Linked DNA regions of Homo sapiens: region 2 is linked to region 1. Evidence: promoter capture Hi-C in human tissues and cell types (Jung and others, 2019). All regions are on one chromosome and are shown on one strand. Each heading gives the region's core, a stretch centred on a gene start or on the middle of the fragment in contact. The rest is flanking DNA. Distances are from core to core; before and after follow the strand shown. Region 1 holds the start of CNDP1 (carnosine dipeptidase 1). Region 2 overlaps C18orf63 (chromosome 18 open reading frame 63).

Region 1 (5,289 bases), core at 1,804-4,303:
TTTGATCTGTGTCACAGTAAAAGAAAGAGTTTGCCCAATCTTGGGCTCAAGATCCCAAGAATAGAATTGATGACTTTCTTTTCTCTCTCAGTATTAGAAAAAGGTGATGGTAATAAGTCAGCAATAGCGACAAAAACAAGCAATGGAAAAGGACTCCCTATTCAATAAATGATGCTCGGATAACTGGCTAGCCATTAGCCATATGCAGAAGATTGAAACTGGACCCCTTCCTTACATCATATACAAAAATCAACTCAAGATGGATTAAGGACTTAAACATAAAACCCCAGACTCTAAAAACCCTGGAAGACAACCTAGGCAATACCATCCTGGACATAGGAACAGGCAAAGATTTCATGACAGAGACACCAAAAGCAATTGCAACAAAAGCAAAAATTGACAAATAGAATCTAATTAAACTTAAGAGCTTCTGCACAGTAAAAGAAACTATCAACAGAGTAAACGGACAACCTACAGAATAGGAGAAAATATTTGCAAACTATGCATCTGACCAAGATCTAATATCCAGTATCGAGGAACTTCAACAAATTTACAAGAAAAAACAAACAATCCCATTAAAAACTGGGCAAAGGACATGAACAGACACTTTTCAAAAGAAGATATACATGTGGCCAACAAGCATATGAAAAAAAGCTCAGTATCACTGATCATTAGAGAAATGCAAATCAAAACCACAATGAGATACCATCTCACATCAAACAACTGTATTAAAAAGTCAAAAAATAACAGATGCAAGTGAGGTTGCAGAGAAAAGGGAAAACTTATACGTTGTTGGTAGGAGTGTAAATTAGTTCAATTATTGTGGAAAGCAGTGTGGCAATTCCTCAAACAGCTAAAAACAGAACTACCGTTTGACCCAATAATCCCATTACTGGGTTATATGCTCAGAGGAATATAAATCATTCTACTATAAAGACACATGAATGTGAATGTTAACTGCAGCACTATTCACAATAGCAAAGACATGGAATCAACCTAAATGTCCATCAATGACAGACTGGGTAAAGAAAATGTGGTACATCTACACCATGGTGAATACTATGCAGCCATAAAAAAGAATGAGATCATGTCCTTTGCAGGAATATGGATGGAGCTGGAGGCCATCATCCTTAGCAAACTAATGCAGGAACAGAAAACCAGACACTGCATGTTCTCATTTGTAAGTGGGAGCTAAATGATGAGAACACATGGACACATAGAGGAGAACAACACACACTGGGGCCTATGGGTGGAGGACGGGAGGAGGGAGAGGATCAGCAAAAATAACTAATGAGTACTAGGCTTAATACCTGGGTGATTAAATAATCTGTACAACAAATCACCATGACACAAATTTACCTATGTAAGAAACCTGCACATGTACTGCTAAACCAAAAATAAAAGTTAAAAAAAAGTAAAAGAATAGCAAAGGGGAAAATATATAGTACAATCTCTTCCTCTCTTTCATATCAAAGGGTATTATATTGAGTCCAAAACAAAATATTTCCTTCTTTTTTGTTTCAGACAGGGTCTTACTCTGCCTCCCAGGCTGGAGTGCAGTGGCGCAACCATGGCTCACTGCAGCCTCGACCTCCCAGGTTCAAGCCATCCTCCCACCTTGGTCTCCTGAGTAGCTGAGACCACAGGCATGCTCCACCCTGCCTGGCTACTTTTAAAATTGTTTGTAGAGTCAGGGTCTCACTATGTTGCCCAGGCCAGTCTTGAACTCCTGGGCTCAGGTGATCCTCCTGCTTTGGCCTCCTAAAGTGTTGGGATTGCAGACATAAGCCACCATGCCCAGCCAGGGAAATTATTTTCTTTCATGTTGCTTTTAACTTTAATGTTTTGAATAGATACTATCATGACACAGTTTAAAGATTTTTTAAAGTAAGACAGTATTCAGTGAAATGTCCTCTTCTAACCCCCACCCCAATGCCCTGGCCAGTCATGGGTTCTTTAAAAAAAAAAAAAAGTCAGCAATGGAAAGCATGGCCAGACCACAGGGTGAGGTTCTTTCTCTCAGAGCAGTGATTTTGCAGCATGGTGTGGGAATCTCATGGTCTTGCAGGTGGGCAAAGCCCACTTCTAGAATCCGGCTGTGGTCAGGTCACCACCTGCCTGCTCACTGTGTCTCCAGCCTCGCATTTGCATGTATTTGTTTCAGTATGTCTTTTGAGAGTCTTCTACGTATCAACCTTCCACAAAATTCTGAAAATTTCTGTGTGTGTATGTGTGTGTTTGCAATGGAAATAAAAAGCGTCCATGAATTTTATCTTTCCAAGTAGTCTGGAACACAACCCCACAAAACCTCACAGCCAAAGGTACCTGCCTGCTTGTTTTCCTAGAGAGAAGCCTTCCCGCCACACCCACACTCAGGTTTGCACCTGAACCATGGAAACCTCGCCGAGAAAGGCCTGGGGTGATTTAGCCCGGTGATTAGCTCTTGCAAACTAGCCCTTAAGTCGGGAACCTGGGACCAGGACAAACAGCACACTGTCTGTTACCATTATTTAGGCAAATTCTTCCAGGAAGCAAACTCATTTTTTTTAAAGAGAAAAAGTACAGAAAAAAATTGATTTAAGAAGACTGAGTTCATGAACAATTTGAATATGAACTACTTGACAATAATGCCATTTAATTATTGTTAAGAACACACAACTACCCAAAAGCATTACTGATAAAATATAATTCCAAATACCACATTCCTCGGCCAAGACAGCACCTAAGAACACCATGAGGAGCAGCATCTGGGGCCACGCTGGGTGCCTGCCCTGCCCAACTGGGCTTAACGCACATGCTCCCGGGACAAATGGAATTCTGGCACCCAATGCACGGACTCTGATGGAGGAGGTCCTACTCACCATTCTCCCGAGTTTGGGATCCATTAGGCTGGAGTTCTGAAGCCTCTAGCAACTTTCCCAACCTCCAAAAAATGTGGCAGAGGGAGTCCCATGAAAGCCCCAAGAGGGTGACATTAAATATCTCTCTGTGCCCTGACCCACGTTGTCCCCCGGAAGGAAGACGAGGCTGGTATAGTGGAGCTATTCACATCTGGAGAACAAAGCGGCTTCGGAGGTATTCATTCAGCTCAACTGCAGAGGAAGAGACAATGCATCTCATACGCGCAGATACGGGATGAGGCAGTGGCCCCAAAGTCATGTGATGTCACTGGAAGCCAGCAGCCTGGCCCAGCCTGCGACTCCTCGGGTTCTTCTTTGGGGGCACTTGTGTGTCATCTCTGAGAGGGAGTAGGGCCCCGGCCAGCAGGCAGAGCTGAGCCAGCGGCACAGCCCCCTCAGGTGACAGCCCCCTCACATGACAGGCCCCCACACACTGTGGCTGTGGGCCCTTGTGATGGAATGTTACGGCCGAGGATTAGCTTCCTAGGGCTGTGCAGGGGCCGAGGGTAGAGTTTTCCCAGCTCTCTGAAGGTTCGCTGCAAAATCAGCTTGCAAAGGGCAGTTGAATTGGAGAAGAGGCATAACAGATTGATTTGCTCCTAGTTTTAAGTGACATGGGAGCCTTCAGAAGGAAGGACCAATCCCTAATGGGGTTGGGAAGCTGAGACACCCTCTTGAGGTTCCACAAGGAGTGGCGGCTTAGATTCTCGCGCAACAGGTTATGGGAGGAGAAAAGAGGACTTCAGCTGAGGGCAATCAGCGCTCACGAGGGAGGATTCAGTGGGCTTGAAGAGCACGCCACGGTCTTCGTTCAAGTCTGCTGGGCCCCGGAGCAGACAATGGTCTTGACAAGTCTGTCCAGCGTGTTCGGTGTCAGCCTTCCTTCCTGAGATATGGGTTCAGTTAACGAAAACTCAGGGAAGGGACTAGAGGTCATTCCTTTCTTCTTTGGTGGGTCAGACTTGAAGGAGATAAGGACACTTCAGGAACTCTGGGAGAGATGGTGGGGGTGGGGGAGCCGAGAGGCCTTGAAGTTCCTTTTCAGTTCAGCTTGAACAAAGCACCATATTTTGGGGTATTGGCTTCTGAGCCCCAACATCTGCTCTAACAAAAGTACCCTACACTGGGTGGCTTAAGCAACAGAAATCGGTCTCAATTCTGGAGACTGGAAGTCTGAGATGAAGGTATGGGCAGGGCAGGTTTCTCCTGAGGCTGAGCGGGAAGGGCGTGCTCCAGGCCTTGACCCGCGTGGCTGCTGGCCGTCCTTGGTGTCCCTTGTCTTGTACAAGCATCACCCGATCTCTGCCCTCATCTTCTTATGATGTTCTCCCTGTGTATGTGTGTGTGTCCAGATTGTCCCTTCTCATAAGGACACAGTTGTGTGTAATCAGGGGTCCATCCTATGCCCATGTGACCTTATCTAAAGATAAGTAATTCAATCTGCAATGACCCTATCTCCATAGAAGGTCACATTCTGAGGTCTTGGGGGTTAGGATGTCAACATATAAATTTTGGTGGGAAGGTCAGGGGACAGTAGAGAAAAGGAGGCAGCAGGGCACAGGCCAGAGCCTTGGGTTGAGGGGTCCCGGGGCTTTTCTGGGGGACTGGGATTCTTTTGCATCATTTCTCTCTGAATAACTCTTGCAGGGATTGGCACACTGGAGACTTACTCTAACTGTTTGCTGAATGAAAGGACAAATAATCAAATAATTTTTACCAACAAAGAAATCTCTGGAAAGGCAGAGTTGGAACTCATTATCCCTGCTAGTTAAGGCTAGCTGTGGCTATCAGGGCCGGGCCCCTCTCCCTTGCAGAGGGGCAGCGTCTCCACCAGCTGCGTCTCTGCACCTCCTCCCCATCCTCACACCCTTTCCCTGACACTTGCCAGGCCGGGCTCCTTGAGCTCCAGGCCCAGCACAGCAGCTCCCAGGAAGTGGGCCTGGCCCTTCTTCCGAAGGCCAAGTTGCTGGGATCATACTCAGAATTCCGAGGGCTGGAAAGGAAGGAGAGGGTGAGGCTGGGCCCAGGTGTGGGCTGTGATCCTAGGAGGGTGGGGGCCCTGCTGCCTGCAGTCATCAGTGGAAAACCTTGCCCCTACCCAGCCAAAGTCACCTCTGGCAAGAGCATAGCGCACGGGCGAGCCCAGGGCTTCAAAAGCCCATGTAATTCAGATCAGAGAATTCCTCTTTCTCAGCCTCTGTCAAATGCACTTTACTCTTTCCTTGCAGAAAATATGTGAGATATGAGTGTTCCTCACAATAATTTTTTTTCTAGAAAAGAGGAAAACAGAGCTGGCTCAAATATTTTGTTAGAATCCCAGCACTTTGGGAGGCTGAGGCAGGAGGATTCCTTGTCAGGAGTTGGAGACCAGCCTGGGCAACAGAGTGAG
Region 2 (5,755 bases), core at 2,396-4,895, 180 kb after region 1:
AAAATACAACATCATAACGTATATAGGAATAGACTCAAATACTTTCTGGTTAATTAAAATCAGGCTGAAAATTTTATTAGTTATAGGAAGAAATAGCAGTTGGAAAAGAAAATGTTTTCTAGTTGGTTCTTAAAGAATCTGAATTGAAAGTATTCCAATAGTTCTATGTAAAAAAATAACTTGTGGGTATTTTAGTAATATGTTTGTTCTTAGAATAGAACAGATGGCAGAACAAAATAAAATGTAATTTCCAGATGTATCATGTTGTAAATTCAGTGCCATGAACTGGGCATTATTAACTGAGTATCAAGTTTAAACATAGCCAGCACTGTAGCACTTTTGGAGTAAATTTTAACTAAATGATTAACCTTTGAAACATCATTTAAGGTTTATTATCTTGGGTAGGTATCCCAAAAAGTGGATATTGTAGTAGCTGTTCAAATCTTCTATTTTTAGATAGTCTGCTGCTGCTGTGTGAGCTCTTCCTAGTCTGCAAGGATCCCCAGAACAGAGTGAGGGGGAGCCCACAGTGGACCATTTGCACCCATCCCTCTTTGAAATCATTACAAAACAGCTGCTGTGTATGGTCCTTATTCAAGGAGTGAACTGTTCCCACCATGTCCTATTTCTTTGCTGATTTTACGGTTTCAAAGAATTTAAAAGTAGCTGCTTTTTACCAAGAGGTTGGGGACCCCTAAACTTGGCAATCCCAATTCAGATAATGTAAAAACAAATCAAAAGCTATCACTTCAGTTACCTGGTAGACATTTCCTTCTTTCAGGTCCATGTTCTAAGCATTATGAATGATGAGAGATTTCTTAAGTTTTGATTTATCCGAGTCAAGTATCTGTATTAGATTGAAGAATCACATTTGTTACAAATTAACTGCATAGACTTACAGTCGCTCTAGGGTAGATATTCTGTTTATTAATTAGTATGGTTCTAAATGATCTTAGGGAAATCATTTAAATCCTTATTTAGGGGTTTTAAGGGTCTAGCATATGATAAGTAGTGCCAGATTAATTTTTTTTTTACCTGCTTCTTAGAAGAACTGGATTGGCCATAGTGCACAGTATCGGAATGATGCTTCTTTGAAGTTTTGGAAGACTCTGGACATAATTTTCTTTTAGACCTGTGGGCTATTTTGCTTACTATCAACCTGTGGTCACTTGTACCAACTTCTTTAGCTTGATTTTCTGATTGCTGCTGTAGCAGTCGTGGATCTTCGGTTTCTCCATCTGATTCAAAAATGTGTGGCTGTCTTTTCAGTTTTAGTGACCCATGGCTTTTCCCTAAAATTTGTGTTATACCTTTGCCTGTTAAATTTTCTTTTCCTTTCATTTGGAAGTCAACAGCACTTTTTACCACCCCTAAATTGTTATTTGACACCACAAATACTGCACTATTAGATAGTTGCTTATTTTTGTTTAAACTCACAGTCGATTTTCCACGAGAAGAGGGAAATTTTGTCATATTTTCAGAAGACTCTGTATTTTTTTCTTGCAGAGGTCTGGAATTCTCCTGATTTAAATTGTTAGCAGCCTGCATCTGAATGTTACTACTATAACGGTTTTTTATAGCTGGACCTAAATTCAGTTTGTCATGCTGGATCATACTAGTTTTGAGTGAAAACAATTTAGATTGTGTCACATCATGCTGTTTTCTTTTTGGGCTGCCAAGTACTGAGGTATTTTTGTTCATTTGTAACAATCTATTTTTGAAAACTGGTACAAACTTAGGGGTGATGTTGCTTTGGGAGCTAAGATTTGTGTGCTGAACTTGAGTATTTCCTCTGTTGGGCATTAATACTTCTGAATGTACTTGTGGAGCCCTGATAGACAGGGATTTCTTTCTACCCTGAACAGACTCTGGCTGGAGATGCAAAGCTGAGAAAATGCCTGATGTTGGCTGGCTGACTGAAAGCTCCACCTTGTGGTCCACTGCTACTGAACATGGTAGAAGACTTTGAGCACAGGCAGGCTTTCTGGAAGTGGCTTGAGTCAGAGATGCCCTAAGCATTTTTTTAGTGGTCAAATTGGGTGGCTTGACTTTGTGTTCCTGAAAAGGATAGAGATTAAAAAAAAATTTAAAATGTTAATAATGTCCTTAATGGAAAAGAAATAAAATATAAAGTATCATCCAAATAAGAATATAAAGCAACACTATGATTTACAGAACAGGTAAAGAAAAACAAAATAAAAATGAGCCTTCTGGTGGAAATGAGTACATTTCTTATGGTTTGTATCCTCCTTTAGATACTATCCAAGATACTATCTTAAGATAAAGGTATATACTACATTTCATATAAATCTACCATAAAAACCATTCACACAGCTACCCACTGTCCTCCAAACATGCTCATGCTGCTGCCTTGCTCACTGAGCAAGGTATGACCTCCTTCAGATACTCAAAGTCCCACCTTCTCCCACCCATCAATCTACCACAGAGCGACTGTTTTTCTGTCAACTCTCCAAGGATCTGCTATCAATTAAATAATATTTGTCACAAAAAAATATTACAAGGTAAGCTCTCTTATCTTTTAGTGCACATATTCCATCTTCCTAAGTAGGTACCAGATTCTTGGAGGGTAAGAACCATGACTTATTTACTCTTATATCCTTCACAGTTACTAAAAATCCTTGTTGAAAGAAATTAATGAAGAGGTGGCTGCATCTATACTGGGCCTTTAGGAATAAGTGGGATTTTGACTACAGGGAAGGCGCTATCTGTGTCTTAATCATGTTTACTTTTTCACTGCCTACCACAGTGCCTGGTACGTGGTAGCAATTCAGCAAGTATTTGTCAAAGAAATTTGTCAGATACATTAAAAAGAGCCAAGCGTTTACAGTCTTTTAAAGATGAACTGTGGATACACACACACATACACATAAATAATATAAAATTTACCATTTTAACCATTTTTAAGTGAACGATTCAGTGACTTTAAGTACATTTACCACTGTACTGTATTATATAACCATCAATACTATTTCCAAAAATTTTTTTTCATTCCAAACAGAAACTTTGTACTCTGTAAATAGTAATTTCCTGTTTCCTCTTCCTTCTAGCCCCTGGTAACCTCTATTTTACTTTCTATTCTATGAATTTGCCCATTCTAGGTACCACATGTAAGTGGAATCATACAATATTTGTCTTTTTGTGTCTGGCTTATTTCATTTAGCATAATGTTTTCAGGGTTCATTTATATTGCAACATGAGTCAGGATTTATTCCTTTTAATGACTGACTATTCCACTGTACTTATATAGCATATTTTATCCACTCATCTCTTGGTGGAAGTATTGTCTTTTAAAGTACATATCTTGTCCTGTTGTCTGTAAAAGAGTGATAGGTAGCAATAACCTGAAACACTGAACACCAAGTTCTTTTCTCACTTTCCCCATCAAAACACAGGTTCACAGCTTGAAATAAACATTTTAAAACTGCTAGGAATAATATGCAAACTTGAATGACTGGTTTTTCTCTCCACTACTGGAGGTTCCATTGTTGAATTAGGTTGAGAAGAGAATAGGAAAGATTTTGGGAAATCAGAGTTGGAAATAGGCACAAGTAAGAGACTAATCCAATTATCTATTAGGCATAAACAAATCACACCAACATTTAGTTGCTTAAAACCAATAATAATTATGTTATCATCTCTCACTATTCTGGGGGTTGGCTTGGCTTAGTTTGGCATCTCTCATGCTGTGTGGTTAGATACTCTGCAGCTGGAGTCACCTTGGAGTCACTTCCTCTTTCACATGTGATGCGTGATGCTGGCTGTTGGCTGGAATGCTGACAGGCAGTCTCTTCCTGTGCTGGGGATCTCTCACAGATTGGGTTCCAAGAACAAATGTCCCCAGAAAGACCAGGTGGAAGCTGTTTCTCCTAAAGACCTAGCCTCAGGGTATGTTGCATCACTCTGTCATAGGGACATCCAGACTCAAGAGAACGAGACCCATACCTCAATGGGAGGAGTATTGTCCCATGACCAAAATGATGTGGAGAAGGAAATTCCAGGAAACTTAGTTCCATAATACTTAAGTTGACATAATAGAAAGTCATTATAGAGGACAATACTCCTCCTTCCATGTTGACTATTCTTGGGAAAAACGGAAAGTCCCCAAGAAAATATTGAGTGAGATTTGGGGGCGATGCTGAAAATAGGTGATTGGGATTCATTTCTTATCTGGAGATTACTTCAGTTGGAGGCTTACCCATGCCACCAGGGCAAGAAGACACACCGTCTTAGTTTCTTTTGGCTGCTATAACAAAGTAGGTAGTTTATAAGCAACAGTTTTGGAGGCTGGGAAGTCCAAGATCAAGGCAAATCTCTCTTGGGCCTTTTAAATAAGAGCACTAATCCTGTTTAGCACAGCTCTACCCCTATGACCTAATCACCTCCCAAAGACCCTACCTCCTAATATCATCACCTTGGGAGTTAGGGTTTCAACATTTAAATTTTGGAGAAACACATTCAGAGCATAGCACATCCTTCTTAATTTGCCCATTATTTTCAAGGGGTGCAAAGAAAACCCAGCTAAGTTTCATGACCCTGAATGAAGAAATACAGAAGTTAACCAAGGAAGAATTACTGGCTTACTGCCCCTTGACATTGCTCAGCTGAGTGAAAAAGCATGCATCAAGAAGGGGTTTGTATTAGAACAGAAACATATTATCTCAGTTTTAGAGCCTTGAAGTCTGAAACCAAGGTGTTGGCAGGGCTGGTTCCTTCAGAGGGCCAGGAGGAAAGGATCTGTTCCGGGCCTGTTTCCTCGGCTTGTAGATGACCATCTCCACCTTCACATGGTGTTCTTCCTCTATGTGTGTCTGTATCCAATTGCCCCTTTTCATAAGAACACTAGTCATATTGGATTAAGGGCCCACCCTACTACAGTATAACTTCATTTTAACTAACTATATCTGCAGTGACCCTATGTCAAATAAGGTCACATCCTAAGGAACTGGGGGTTAGGATTTCAGTGTATGTATCTGAGGGGTACACAATTCAACCTGTAACAGGGTTGGATATACACTTCTGGAGAGAACAGAGAGAGGAGGGAGCTGTTTTTCTGAAGACTCCCTGTACAAGGGAGCTAGGGTAAAGCTAAAAAGTAACTGATAAAACCTCATATACTATCTCTGTTGAGATACCATATGAGCAGAGACCACCACCATTAAATCAACCCAGGTCAAGAAGTGAAGGTGTGAAGGCCTCCTACCCCCACACCCCACAGCCAATCTCTATGCTGTGACTGCAATGGATAGGATGGACTGGTGTTCAACCTCCATTCCACCCTCCTCCTTGTGCTCCTATACAGACTAAAGCCTGGAAATCTAAAATTTATATTTCATCTTTTGCAGCTAGGGTTTGGATGTGATTTAGAACCAGCCAATCAGATGCACTCATAAAATATTTGGAAGTAGAAGTAAGGTCTAGCCACACTTCTGTTTTTGCAGAAACGCTTAACTATGAATGCCTTTGATTTTCAGTTACAGAGTTAGCAGCTTAAGTGTAGGGGAGCAGAATGTAGGGCACCATTCTCTTGCTATAGAGGAGTAGTCCTCAATCATTTTGTCACCAGGGACCAGTTTTGTGGAAGACAATTTTTCCATGGACCGGGGTGGTGGGGGGGATGGTTTTGAAATGAAACTGTTCCATCTCAGATCATCAGGCATTCGATTCTCATAAGGAGCATGCAACCTAGATCCCTCGTGTACGCAGTTCACAATAGGGTTCGTGCTCCTACAAGAAT

Evidence for each region. The method cuts DNA at HindIII sites, captures the fragments that hold promoters and counts their contacts. A contact is called where the count stands out against the background at its distance.
Region 2: a contact is called between a fragment that was not itself captured here and the fragment with the promoter of CNDP1 in region 1, in 1 of the 25 tissues and cell types used here (heart left ventricle).

The regions. Positions count from the first base shown.
Region 1 is chr18:74,532,264-74,537,552 of GRCh38, reverse strand. CNDP1 (carnosine dipeptidase 1) reads right to left here and starts at 3,053. Exons shown (of 12, transcript NM_032649.6): 1 at 2,862-3,053. The coding sequence starts at 2,885. The HindIII fragment of the contact is 24,351 bases long and covers 1-5,289 here.
Region 2 is chr18:74,349,549-74,355,303 of GRCh38, reverse strand. C18orf63 (chromosome 18 open reading frame 63) reads right to left here. Exons shown (of 14, transcript NM_001174123.2): 12 at 1,036-2,058; 13 at 758-847. The coding sequence ends at 791. Among named protein-coding and RNA genes, the nearest start is that of C18orf63, 37 kb to the right of the region's middle. The HindIII fragment of the contact is 6,259 bases long and covers 516-5,755 here.